Linked DNA regions of Homo sapiens: regions 1, 2, 3 and 4 are each linked to region 5. Evidence: promoter capture Hi-C in human tissues and cell types (Jung and others, 2019). All regions are on one chromosome and are shown on one strand. The core of a region is centred on a gene start or on the middle of the fragment in contact, and the rest is flanking DNA. Distances in the headings are between cores, read along the strand shown. Region 1 has its middle 10 kb from the start of RPL11. Region 2 overlaps HNRNPR (heterogeneous nuclear ribonucleoprotein R). Region 3 overlaps HNRNPR (heterogeneous nuclear ribonucleoprotein R). Region 4 has its middle 24 kb from the start of HTR1D. Region 5 holds the start of ASAP3 (ArfGAP with SH3 domain, ankyrin repeat and PH domain 3).

Region 1 (2,700 bases), core at 120-2,619, 200 kb after region 5:
TGCCTAAACTGTCTTTTCTTTTCTTTTTCTTTTTCTTTTTTCTTTTTTCTTTTTTTTTTTGAGATGGAGTCTGGCTCTGTTGCCCAGGTTGGAGTGTAATGGCGCGATCTCAGCTCACTGCAAGCTCTGCCTCCTGGGTTCACGCCATTTTCCTGCCTCAGCCTCCCAAGTAGCTGGGACTACAGGCGCCCGCCACCACGCCCGGCTATTTTTTTTGTATTTTTAGTAGAGATGGGGTTTCACCGTGTTAGCCAGGATGGTCTCGATCTCCTGACCTTGTGATCCACCCAACTTGGCCTCCCAAAGTGCTGGGATTACAGGCGTGAGCCACCACGCCCGGCCCTGTCTTTTCTTTTTTGAGACAGAGTCTTGCTCTTCTCCCAGGCTGGAGTGCAATGATGCGATCTTGGCTCACTGCCACCTCCACTTCCCAAGTTCAAACAATTCTCCTGCCTCAGCCTCCCCAGTAGCTGGGATTACAGGCTCCCAACACCACGCCTGGCTAATTTGAGTATTTTTCATAGAGACAGGGTTTCACCCTGTTGGCCAGGCTGGTCTCAAACTCCTGACCTCATCCGCCCGTCTTGGCCTTTCAAAGTGCTGAGATTACAGGTGTAAACCACTGCGCCCGGCTGTCTGAACTATCTTAATCCTGATCCTGCTAATATGGTTTTCTCTCTGCTGATGAGCTTGAGGCGTTGGATAAAGCAAAGCAAGTCTTTTTGCCTCTGCCTCTACTGACCTCTGTCTCAAGCAGTGAGGAGGCAGGTGGGTTACTGGGAGTCCAGATGCAAGAGCCAGACAGCTGGGCTTGTAAAGAAGAAAACGCATGGAGGGAAAACTGAGGGGAAGGTCTGGGCCCTAGCCTGGTCTGTCGGCTTCTAAAATAGGACGGGACGCTGGTATTAGACTGCCTGATTTCATTACTGTCTTAAAAGTTACTAGACCAGGAGTGGTGGTGCATGCCTATAATCCCAGCACTTTGGGAGGCCGAGGTGGGTGGATCACTTGAGCTCAGGAGTTCAAGACTAGCCTGGGCAGTATAGTGAGACCTCATCTCTACAAAAAATACAAAAAAATTGGCCAGGTGTGATGGTGCATACCTGTGGTCCCAGCTACTTGGGAGGTTGAGGTGGTAGGATCACTTGAGCCCAGGAGGTCGAGGCTGCAGTGAGCTGAGATCGTGCCTCTGCACTCCAGCCTGGGCAACTGAGTGAAAAAAAGAAAAGAAAAAAAAAAAAAGGGCCAGGTGCAGTGGCGTATGCCTGTAATCCCAGCACTTTGGGAGGCTGAGGAGGGCAGATCACTTGAAGTCAGGAGTTTGAGACCATCCTAGCCAACATGGCAAAACACCATCTCTACTAAAATACAAAAATTAGCTAGGCATGGTGGTGCATGCCTGTAGTCCCAGCTACTCAGGAGGCTGAGGCACAAGAATTGATTGAACCCGGGAGGCAGAGGTTGCAGTGAGCTGAGATCACACCACTGCACTCCAACCTGGGTGACAGAGCAAGACTGTGTCTAAAAAAAGAAAAAAAAAAAAAGCTGGACACGGCTGGACACGGTGGCTCACACCTGTAATCCCAGCACTTTGGGAGTCTGAGGCGGGTAGATCACCTGAGGCCAGGAGTTCAAGACCACCCTGGCCAACATGGCGAAACCCTGTCTCTACCAAAAATACAAAAATTAGCCAGACGTGGTGGCGGGCACCTGTAATCCCAGCTACTTGGGAGGCTGAGGCAGGAGAATTGCTTGAACCCAGGAGATGGAGGTTGCAATGAGCCGAGACATCATGCCATTCCACTCCAGCCTAGGTGACAGAGTGAAACTCCTCCATCTCGAAAAAAAGAAAAAAAAGTTACTAAACTTCTATGTGTTTGTCTGCTCATCTGTAAAATGGGAAAGCAATAGTATCTGCCTCCACAGGGATGCTGAAGGTTGAGTGAGCTGGTGCCTGGTGGGGACAGTAAATTAGTTATTAATCAGCCACCCTCATTATCACAGTATGGGTAATACAGCCACTTAAGAGCTATTCTGGGAAGTTTGTTTGAAGAAAAGGTGGAGTTGGGGTGGGGATTGAGCTTTTGAGAATGAGTTCAATTTTATATCTCCCCAGGTACCTGTTTCCCTTTAAGTTACATAGAAGTTGCAAGAAGTCCCATATATCTTTCACCCAGATTCCCCAAGTCCTTTATTGATTGATTGATTGAGAGGGGGCCGGGTATGGTCTGGCTGTGTCACCCAAGCTAGGGTGCAGTGGTTGGATCATAGCTCATTGCAGTCTCAAACTCCTGGGCTCAAAGGATCCTCCTGCCTTAGCCTCTTCCACCACTGGAATTATAAATGTGTGCCACTATGCTCAGCAGATTCCCTAAAACTTAACTTCACCATGTTCTGCGGTGAGAAGGTATATCCAAACCTACCCCCAAAGGCCAAGGGAGCTGATGGGCTGAAGAAAGAGGATGACAAATCTAGTTTCTCAGAAAGAAACATGTAAGACACTTAGAAGAGAAGTCATGTCTCAGGCAGCCGTGAGACAGTGGGTCCCCGTACTATTACCCCCAAGACCCAGGGCTCATATACCATAGGGAAAGGGTATATGTGCTTCAGAAGAAATGTGTAGGACAATTGAGGTCAACCCTCTGGGAAAGGCAAAAATGCTATGTATGACATAGCCTATAATCTGCTTAAGAAGAGGAT
Region 2 (2,700 bases), core at 3-2,502, 180 kb before region 5:
CTGTTTTGCACAATCAAACCCATCACACCCCACCCAAAATCACCAACACAACATTTTGAACATGTTAAATTTTATTAAAAATATTTAACATCGTACAAATATTCCAATACAGTTATGGTACATGAACACTGTACCAAAAGCATGATTTTTATTAAACTGATGATTAAATGGAAAAGGTCTTGCAAATGTCCCTATTTTGGTATTTCTTATGTTACTATATCCATATCAGCAATTTATGTTTGCAGGAGCCTTCAGTCCAATTATAGAAATAGTCTTAGAACATAGTACCTAACATTATAATGGGATTCACTAAGTACAAGTCTACCTACATTATCGAAGAGGCTAGAGAAGTCCCTTTTGCCCAACCCTCATATGTGAGAAATCAAGAAAAGCAATGTTCATGGGATCCTGACAAATCTACTATATAAAGTGAGAGCCCTTATTTAAATTTGAGCAATTTAAGTTTTTCCCCAGAATGTCTCCTTTGTTGGTTCCACAAAATGTATTTTGTTTTTAGTGTTTAAAGTCAACAAACTGGCATTGCATTTTCCTTAACTTACATAAACTCATCAGAATTACATGAATATTCCTACTGCTTACCTTAAAACTTCCTAAGGAGCATGCTATTTAGTGCTAAGTTTTATACCCTGATCCTTTCTGTCACTGACACATGCATAAAATGTTACCTTAACACAACCCTGCAATCACTACAATTCTTAAAAGTATTACATAATTTCATTCTAGTGTTGTACAACTAGTCTATAGCAAACTTACAAGTAAGGGTTTATATTCATGACACTGACTAGCACATTTAACATCTAGGAAAGTCTTTCTAGACTGATATTCTCAACCAATAAAGAAGATACAGTGCTGTAAGAATACTGAGAAGGTTCTTCAGGCATGAAAATCCATAATTACTTTTAATCAGTGTTTATACCATATTACAATTATTTTTTATATGGTATGGTCAGAAATGCCTAGTTACTAAATTTAATTTCAATCTATACCTTACCATCATGGAATCCCCTACAAACTATAAGATGAGGGATTTTAATCTTTAGCAATAATTTAAATATTGACTCTTAATTCTACCAATATCTGCTAATCCTATCAGCTACCCTAGCTTTCACACAAAACACAAGTTGTTCATAGGTTTATGTTTCTGCTATGTTCAAGGTCTTAATATTTCAGCTATGTAATTTCCTCTTGACCCAAAGTCATTGTCTCAACATATCTCTAAATTGAGGCCATTATTGTCAAACTGCTAAAACTTTTTAAAGTTTCATTTTACAGTGTTAAGATTACTTTGGAAGATTTTTAAAAATAGTATCTTTGGTGTTTAAGCCCTCCATTCTATCAATGTCTTCTTGTTTTCACTAAAATTAGTGTGCAATAAATATCTCTTTAAGATGCATTATATGTTAATCTATCCAACAAAATATAGAAAATATAATACTAGACTGAAATGACAGTTAAAGCAAATTTATTGTCTCTCCAAGAGACTTTTTAAGATTATAAGGTGTCTATTTTGCTCACTTAAAATATACCCTGAGTATTTCATTACTTCATACTTGCAGGCCTTTCCTGCTGATCTGCTACCAATTTAAAAGTAAGTGAAGTGTTATTATATGTTCCTATTAAGAACAAAATAATTTAATATTAAAGTCCTATTTTTCTACAAGGCTGACATAATTGCCCACTTATAGGATATGGGCATTCTCCCACACTTAATGCCCCACTACTGATAAAAAAAAAAATAGGAAAAAAAAGTTCTTACCAACAATTCCACTGGTTATCGTCCCCAGCGAACCCCACCTAGCAAGTCGACATCATGACATGTCAGGTCAGGGCAGCCTCAACCTCGCTTCCCTGATAGTCAGGTGATAAAAGGAAGGAGTTAAAACAGGAAAAGTACACTTGCAGATTTCTGGATAACATCTGAAAATGATTAAAAAAACAAAAAAACAAAACAAAACAAAACAAAACCAGAGCTTCTGGTAACCTCTAAATAAAAAAGTATATATATGTACTTTTATTTAAAGAAAAAAAACTTTTCTAGAAGGATTAACAATAATTAACTTCAAATTAAATATTATTAAATTGCTGACCAATACATTGTATATGCAATATTTTTAAAGCTTGGTGTTTGCGTTTGAAAATTAAGACCTAATCAACAAACTTCTAATATAAAAGTAAACATGTCTGGCTAATGGATTTGTTATTCTGGATTCTCCAGTCAGTCATCCAATCTACTGGTTTCCTCAGAACAACTCCACCCCTAAGTTAACAGAAGCTCCCATTCTTAGAGAAACATAAACACACTTATAAATCCAGTGTAGTCTTTCTATAAGGCTTTTTCTTAGTTGCTCACTTAAGAGATTCCACATAATAATTGTCCACATAATAATGGACTACACTAATATTAACTTTGGTTAGTTTTCTTTAAGAATATTGGTAGCTCAGTATAATAAAATTATCTTTGAAAAATCAAAATGACAAGTTTTAACATATTTAGAAGCCTTGATAATTGACAAGCAATAGCCTTATAGCAAGTATTTACTGGAAGGGTTTGGTTTTACAAATGCACAATTAATAAAACGTAGGTATGATTATATTCAAATGGGCAGGAGGCAAATGATGTAATGAGTTTCAAGAATAATATTATATGGCTTTATGCTAGGAGTGAAATTTTATGTCCCT
Region 3 (2,700 bases), core at 66-2,565, 150 kb before region 5:
TTTTTTTTGAGACGGAGTCTCGCTGTGTCACCCAGGCTGGAGTGCAGTAGCGCGATCTCGGCTCACTGCAAGCTCCGCCTCCCAGGTTCACGCCCTTTTCCTGCCTCAGCCTCCCGAGCAGCTGGGACTACAGGCACCCGCCACAACGCCCGGCTAATTTTTTGTATTTTTAGTAAAGACAGGGTTTCACCGTGTTAGCCAGGATGGTCTCAATCTCCTGATCTCGTGATCCACCCGACTTGGCCTCCCAAAGTGCTGGGATTACAGGAATGAGCCACCATACCCAGCCTCTAGTGTACTTAAAGTTCCATCATTTAAGCTTGATTTTGTTTGATCCTTCTGGTTTGTACTCCTGCCATATCATAAGCTCCACAAGAATCAGGTAATCAGACAAGAATCATACAGTACAGACTAAAAATATTTGGCAATTACCAAATAAGTATAGTCAGGTTCCGAAAAATAAGTAAAATCTTGTGTTTCCTGATTACCAACCTTCCTTACATTCTATTAGGTATTAAGAGCAATCATAGAAAAGAAGATAATCTCCTTGCTCTCAGGAATTTATGTTATAATTGAGGCAACATCTATATAAAGAGCTTAGAGAAGAAAAGATACAATGGTAAACAAAGAAACACAATCTACCTAGAAAAGAGAAATTTACACTTCAGTTTTTTTGGTTTTTTTTTTTTGAGACGGAGTCTCGCTCTGTCGCTCAGGCTGGAGTGCAGTGGCGCGATCTTGGCTCACTGCAAGCTCCGCCTCCCGGGTTCACGCCATTCTCCTGCCTCAGCCTCCCAAGTAGCTGGGACTACAGGCGCCTGCCACCACACCCGGCTAATTTTTTGTATTTTTAGTAGACAGGTGGCCTCACCGTTGTTAGCCAGGATGGTCTCGATCTCCTGACCTCGTGATCCACCCGCCTCAGCCTCCCAAAGTGCTGGGATTACAGGCGTGAGCCACAGAGCCCAGCCAGGTTTTTAAAATTACACAATGTCAGAACAATAAGAGACTTTAGATATCATCAAGTTCAGTGAACACTAGGATTTCACAGGGATGCATGCCTTCGGCCTTCCATTCTTCTACCTTTGACTGAAACAGAGCCATAAATGTAATATAAAACAGGGGTCCCCACACCCCTGGGCCACAGACCCGTACTGGTCCATGGCCTGTTAGGAACCGGGCTGCATAGCAGGAGGTAAATAGCGGGCAAGTGAGAACAAAGCTTCATCTGTATTTACAGCCGCTCCTCATCCTCCCTATCATTGGCATTACTGCCTGAGCTGTGAGCTCCACCTCCTGTCAGATCAGCAGCCGCATTAGGTTCTCACAGGAGGGTGAATCCTATTGTGAAGTGTGCATACAAGGGATCTAGGTTGCATGCTCCTTATGAGAATCTAATGCTTGAAGATCTGTCACCATCTACCAGTATGCCCAGATGGCACCATCTAGTTGCAGGAAAACAAGCTCAGGGATCCCACTGATTCTACATTATGGTGAGTTGTATAATTATTTCATTACATATTACAATGTAATAATAATAGAAATAACTTCAACATACAATAACTATTTCTAATTAAAAAGTCTATCACAGCCGGGCGCGGTGGCTCACGCCTGTAATCCCAGCACTTTGGGAGGCTGAGGCGGGCGGATCACGAGGTCAGGAGATCGAGACCATCCCGGCTAAAATGGTGAAACCCCGTCTCTACTAAAAATACAAAAAATTAGCCGGGCGTAGTGGCGGGCGCCTGTAGTCCCAGCTACTCGGGAGGCTGAGGGAGGAGAATGGCGTGAACCCGGGAGGCGGAGCTTGCAGTGAGCCGAGATCCCGCCACTGCACTCCAGCCTGGGCGACAGAGCGAGACTCCGTCTCAAAAAAAAAAAAAAAAGTCTATCACAGGCCGGATATGGTGGCTCACACCTGTAATCCCAGCACTTTGGGGAGGGTGAGGTAGGCAGATCCCCCAAGGTCAGGAGTTTGAGACCAGCCTGGCTAACACAGTGAAACCCCGACTCTACCAAAAAACAAAAAAAATTAGCAGCCAGGCACGGTGGCTCACGCCTGTAATCCCAGCACTTTGGGAGGCCGAGGCGGGCGGATCATGAGGTCAGGAGATTGAGACCATCCTGGCTAACATAGTGAAACCCTGTCTCTACTAAAAATACAAGAAAAAAAAAATTAGCCGGGCATGGTAGCAGGCACCTGTGGTCCCAGCTGCTCAGGAGGCTGAGGCAGGAGAATGGCGTGAACCCAGGAGGCAGACCTTGCAATGAGCTGAGATCGCGCCACTGCACTCCAGCCTGGGCGACAGAGGGAGACTCCGTCTCAAAAAAAAAAAAAAAAAAAAAAAAAAAAATTAGCTGGATGTGGTGGCGCACGCCTGTAGTCCCAGCTACTCAGGAGGCTGAGGCAGGAGAATCGCTTGAACCCAGGAGACAGAGGTTGAAGTGAGCTGAGATGAGCTGAGATGGCGCTACTGCACTCCAGCACTCCAGCCTGGGCCACAGAGTGAGACTCTGTCTCAAAAAAAAAAAAAAAAAAGAAAAGTATGTCACTACAGCAAGACACGAGTATCCATTTAACTAAGGAATTAGGTTCACTGGTCTTTCATTAAAAGCTGTATATTTACCTTTTCAAAGCTGTTTATCTAAGTAATAAAATGGTAATAATAATAATGGTTCATGGTTATATAGTTCTTGCTA
Region 4 (2,700 bases), core at 60-2,559, 240 kb before region 5:
CGGGAGGCGGAGCTTGCAGTGAGCGAAGATCGCACCACTGCACTCCAGCCTGGGGGACAGAGCGAGACTCCGTCTCAAAAAACAAAACAAAACAAAAACAAAACAAAAACAAAGGGTTCATACAAAGAATTATCCTAAGAAGTGCATAGGAGCTGGGCGAGGTGGCTCACGCCTGTAATCCCAGCACTTTGGGAGGCCGAGGCAGGCGGATCACCTGAGGTCAGGAGTTTGAGACCAGCCTGGCCAACGTGGTGAAACCCTGTCTCTACTAAAAATACAAAAATTAGCCAGGCGTGATGGTGGGTGCCTGTAATCTCAGCTACTTGGGAAGCTGAGGCAGGAGAATCACTTGAACCTGGGAGGTGGAGGTTGCCGTGAGCGGAGATTGCGCCACTGCACTCCAGCCTGGGTGACAGAGCGAGACTCCGTCTCAAAAAACAAACAAGCAAAAAAACCCCACAAAAATTAGCTGGGCATGGTGGCACATGCCTGTAATCCCAACTACTTGGGAGGCTGAGGCACGAGAATCGCTTGAATCCCGGGGGGGCAGAGGGTGCAGTAAGCTGAGATCATGCCACTGCACTCTAGCCTGGGAGACAGAGGGAGATTCCATCTCAAAAAAAAAAAAAAAAAAAAAAACAGTTCATAGGAAGAAGACAAAGAACCCACTAGAAAAATGGGCAAATGCCCGGGTGCGGTGGCTCACGGATCACGAGGTCAGGAGATCGAGACCACGGTGAAACCCCGTTTCTACTAAAAATACAAAAAAAAAAAAAATTAGCTGGGCGCGGTGGAGGGCGCCTGTAGTCCCAGTTGCTCGGGAGGCTGAGGCAGGAAAATGGCGTGATCCCGGAAGGCGGAGCTTGCAGTGAGCCGAGATCACACCACTGCACTCCAGCCTGGGCGACATATCGAGACTCCGTCTCAAAAAAAAAAAAAAAGAAAAGAAAAAGAAAAATGGGCAAAGGACACAGAGAATTCATAGCAGTTGACTGCAAGTGGCCAAAACACTTAGGAGATCGTGCTCACCCTCACAGGGAGGTCAGGGAATACACATTTACAACCAGAAGATACTATTTTTCTCTTACAATATTGACAACAATTTAAACAATTAGTAATATATGGGGAAGTGTTAATGAGCCACAAATCGCTACCCTTTTTTTTTTTTAGAGACGGGGCCTCCCTATGTTGCCCAGCATAAAATACAGTGGCTACTCACAGGCACCATCAAAGTGCACTGCAGCCTCAAACCCCTGGGCTCCCACCTCAGCCTCTTGAGTAGCTGGGACTACGGGCATGCACTACACACCCAGCTAATATTTTTTAAAAATCGCTCTTTTTTAAAAACTGAAATACAATTCAGATCATAAACTCATGCTTTAAAGCTTGCTACAACCTTTGAGAAAATCATCTGACATTATTTATTAAAATTTAAAACATGCATACATAACTAAATTATTAAAAATTAAAATGCATACTTTTTGACACAGCAATTCCACTTCTAGGAAATAAAACTATGAGTGCTTTTATTAACGATATGTGTGCAAGGAGATTCACTGAAGCACTCATAACCGCAACAAGCAAAAAAACTGGACCCAAGCTACAAGGCCACCAGTGAGAGAAAGCTGCATGAATGAGTCTACATATCTCACATAGGATGTTACTAGCTACTAAAAAGAATGAAATATTGCATATGAATATGAATGACCGCTAGGACATGGTATTATAGTGAAAAAAGCAAGGTGCAGGCTGGGTGCGGTGGCTCATGCCTGTAATCCCAGCAATTTGGGTGTGCAAAGTGGTCGAATCCTTTGAGCCTAGGGGTTTGAGACCAGCCTGGGCAACATGGCGAAATCCCATCTCTCCAAAAAACTTACAAAAAGTAGCTGAGTGTGATGGCACACGCCTGTGGTCCCAACTACTTGGGAGGCTGAGGCGGGAGAACTGCTTGAACCCAGGAAGTCGAGGCTGCAGTGAGTCATGATTGTGTCACTGCACTCTAAGTCTGGGCCTAGAGTGCAGTGGCACAATCATGAGCCTTTAAGAGCCTGTCCCGAAAAAAAAAAAAAAAAAAAAAAAAAAGCAAGGCGCAGAACAGTATTATATGTACAAGATATACAGTATATCCTGTTATGTAAAACTGGGGATGGGGGGCAATGCATATACATAATTGCTTATCCATGCTTAATGCAGCCCTGGAAGGATGCACAAGAAAGGTAACACTGGAAGCTTTTGGGGAGATAACCGGGTACCTGGGGTAGGGGTGAGAGGGAGGCTCATTTTTGAATATTCTTGTGTACCTCTGGAGTTTTGAATCATGTGAATTACTTAATATAATTGTAGATTAATTAATATATCTAAATATATTGGAAAGCTGTCTGCTATGTATTGTTAAATGAAAAAAGTATATTCCAGAACAGTATAGAATGATTCTTTTTGTAGAAAAAGGAAAGAAAGCAAAAGAAAGGAACAAACATCCTAACACTATACACACATACACGCACATATCTTTGTTTAGGCATTAAAAAAAAAAGAAGAATGGGCAGGTGCAGCGGCCCACACCTGTAACCCCAGCACTTTGGGAGGCCAAGGTGGGAGGATGCTTGAGGCCAGGAGTTCAAGACAAGCCTGGGCAACATAGTGAGATCTCATCTCTACAAAAAACTTCAAAAATTAGCCAGGAACGGTGGCTCAAGGCTG
Region 5 (2,700 bases), core at 190-2,689:
AGATCGAGACCATCCTGGCTAACACGGTGAAACCCCGTCTCTACTAAAAATACAAAAAAAAAATTAGCCAGGCGTAGTGGCGGGAGCCTGTAGTCCCAGCTACTCGGGAGGCTGAGGCAGGAGAATGGTGTGAACCTGGGAGGCGGAGTTTGCATTGAGCCAAGATCGCGTCACTGCACTCCAGCCTGGGCGACACAGCGAGACTCCGTCTCAAAAAAAAAAAAGGAAAGAAAAAAGGTCTGCCTTCCCCAAAGTCGATGCTCCTTCCACAATCCTCTATCACCCTTACAAAGTGATACAAACAGACTCCGAGATGGAGGGTCACCCTGACAAGAGAGAAGAGGACAGATTTCCTGACACTGGCGCAGGGTGTTATGAACTACTGAGCTTTGTATCTGCCACGCAGTGGGTGCCTAGTACACTTAAGGTGAAGGGTGGAAGGCTAGAGCCGTTGCTGAGGTCCAAAATGCCACCCAAATTGAGGGCATCCTTTGGATGGGGAGCTGCAAAAACACATTATTCTCCGTTGGACCAAGGCCACGGGGTGTCTGTCCTAGAATATTCTTTGCAGAGGAGCTGCGGAAAGCTGCAGCAGGTTCAGAGAAGAGGAATGGAAGGAACTCCGAAGAGCATGGGAATGGGGTGGGGCAGCCTGCAAGACCGAAAGAAAAGGCCTGGGACGCTTTGCTGGGAAAGACAAAGAGGAGAGGGGAGGGGAGAGGAGACGATAAACTTGCCAACAGCCCGGCCAAGGTGAACCCCGGCTCCTGGCGCCTTCCCATCCGCATTCATTCCACAAACGCGGGCCAAATCTCCGAACCAGCCGCAAGCGGGAGGGGGCCTCTCTGCAGCCGGGGGGAAGAAAGTTCAGGACTGAGGCGGGAAGCCTGCCTCTCAGAAGGGGAGTGACTCGGGGGGCACACTTGTGGGGCTCCGAAGATGAAAACGCAAACTGAGGCTGGAAGGCGCTAGGCAAACACATATGTGATGAGGCGGTCACGCGGGGCACTTGGGGTACGTCCCCCGACCTGTGGAGTTTGTCATCGAAGAGACCTCGAGGCCCCCCAAAACGGTCCCTCGGGCCTTCCCCCGCCTCGACGGTGAGGACGCAGCTGTTGGAGATGCGCTCGGTCCTCCCAGACCTAGGGAGGGGGCAGGTTTCGGGGCGCGGTGAAGGGCCATCGCAGCTCGGGTGCGACACGCCTGTGGAGGTCAAGGCCAGGCCCGGCGCCGACCCCCGACCCCTCCCGCCTCGGCCCCCTCACCTCCTCCCGCGCCAGCGCCGCCCCTCGGTACCGGGGCATCTTGGCGGCGAAGGCGGCGGCCCCAGCCGGGGAGCTGAGGTCCTCCGCGGTGACGGCCAGGAACTCGGCGACGCTGAACTGCTCCGGCATGGCGGGCGCGAGCGTGGAGCTGCCGGAGCGGGGCGCGGGGGGCACTGAGCTGCTCCGCGCTGAGCCGGCCTCACCGCCGGCCGGGGGCGCCGTCCCGGCCTCCACACGCCCCGCCCCTCCGCACGCCCCGCCCCCGACCCTCCAGCCGCTCTCCGCTCCTCAGCTGGGACGGCCCCGCCCCCGGCTCCTCGCCTTCCTCCACCGCCAAGGTCCAGGCTCCGGCCCCGGTCCCGGCCCCGCACCGCGTCAGGCCGCTTCCCCGGCCCCTCGCCGGCCCCCTAGGCCACGCCCCCAGCCCCTCACCGCCTCAGACCCCGCCCCCTGGCGCGATGCCCCACCCCTGGCCTCAGTAGAAACTCCTCCGCCTTCCCCCATCCCTGCCCCTTCAGGGCTCTGTCCCGTTTCATCCCGCTCTGGGTCTTCCAAATCCTCCTCCCTTGCACGGCCCAGGCTGTTCCATCTCCGCGTCGAGTCTTAGAGCCCCCTCCCTCTTCCTCCCTCCTCTGCTGATTCGTTCCGAGTTCCCCATGACCTCGCCCCTTCTGCCCTACCACCCCCCCGCCACCCTTCCCTCCTCTCTCCCCAGTCCCGCCCAATCTCCTTGCCTCGCTCCGCCCCGAATCGCCCCACCCCTCCTTTGCTGCGTACGCCCAGCTCTCAGCCTCAGCTTTGCAGGCATCCGGAGACTCCCTCCTGATAACCCCCGCCGCCCCGGGGATGTGTGGATCGGGGCCCCTGGCTAGCTGTGTGACTTGGGGAAAATTACTTCTCTTCTGGAACCTCAGTTTCCTTATCTGTACAATGGGAAGCCTGATGCCCGCTTGATTGTGATGTTGCGAAGAACCGAACACGTGCGTGTACTAGTTCCCTCTTACCCGACCATAGATCGCACCCACGCCTTTACTCTTCCTGCTCCTGCCTTTCACCCCTTAATCTGGCTCACCATCCTTTGGGGCGGATGAGGGATGGGGTTCAGGATAGAAATCCACTTAGGTTTAGTTCTGAAGCCTGAGGTCCTCTGGGGAAAAGTTCTCCAAGTAAAAAGCTAGGAAAGCACCGCAGCAAGGAACATTGGTTTTGGAGTCAGAGGAACCTAGATTCCAATCTTGGTTACTTTGGATAAATTGCTTGCTTCTCTAAGCCTGCATTTCCCCCTCTTAAAATGGCCTCATGGTATTTTACCCCACAGGGCGGCGATTGAGAGAATCTTTTCTTTTCTCGCACAGAAAAGAAAAGAAAAGAAAAAATCCGGAAAGATATGCACTAAAATGTTGCACCAGCAACATTTTATGCACTAGCTGAAGAC

What was found. Contacts are between HindIII fragments. The study calls those that stand out against the background at their distance.
Region 1: a fragment that was not itself captured here is called in contact with the fragment with the promoter of ASAP3 in region 5 in 2 of the 25 tissues and cell types used here (H1 embryonic stem cells and heart right ventricle).
Region 2: a fragment that was not itself captured here is called in contact with the fragment with the promoter of ASAP3 in region 5 in 1 of the 25 tissues and cell types used here (adrenal gland).
Region 3: a contact is called between a fragment that was not itself captured here and the fragment with the promoter of ASAP3 in region 5, in 2 of the 25 tissues and cell types used here (liver and pancreas).
Region 4: a fragment that was not itself captured here is called in contact with the fragment with the promoter of ASAP3 in region 5 in 1 of the 25 tissues and cell types used here (IMR-90 fibroblasts).

What each region holds. Positions count from the first base shown.
Region 1 is chr1:23,680,366-23,683,065 of GRCh38, forward strand. No RefSeq gene overlaps it. Among named protein-coding and RNA genes, the nearest start is that of RPL11, 10 kb to the right of the region's middle. The HindIII fragment of the contact is 6,026 bases long and covers 1-2,700 here.
Region 2 is chr1:23,304,635-23,307,334 of GRCh38, forward strand. HNRNPR (heterogeneous nuclear ribonucleoprotein R) reads right to left here. Exons shown (of 11, transcript NM_005826.5): 11 at 54-2,700. Among named protein-coding and RNA genes, the nearest start is that of LINC01355, 20 kb to the left of the region's middle. The HindIII fragment of the contact is 4,009 bases long and covers 1-2,700 here.
Region 3 is chr1:23,334,247-23,336,946 of GRCh38, forward strand. All of the region lies in intron 4 of HNRNPR (heterogeneous nuclear ribonucleoprotein R), which reads right to left. Among named protein-coding and RNA genes, the nearest start is that of HNRNPR, 8.7 kb to the right of the region's middle. The HindIII fragment of the contact is 4,351 bases long and covers 1-2,700 here.
Region 4 is chr1:23,240,635-23,243,334 of GRCh38, forward strand. No RefSeq gene overlaps it. Among named protein-coding and RNA genes, the nearest start is that of HTR1D, 24 kb to the left of the region's middle. RefSeq lists a silencer at 1,848-2,048. The HindIII fragment of the contact is 4,016 bases long and covers 1-2,700 here.
Region 5 is chr1:23,482,740-23,485,439 of GRCh38, forward strand. It overlaps ASAP3 (ArfGAP with SH3 domain, ankyrin repeat and PH domain 3), which reads right to left and starts at 1,440. Exons shown (of 25, transcript NM_017707.4): 1 at 1,266-1,440. The coding sequence starts at 1,394. RefSeq lists silencers at 1,275-1,724, 1,845-1,954, 1,965-2,014 and an enhancer at 2,205-2,304. The HindIII fragment of the contact is 29,915 bases long and covers 1-2,700 here.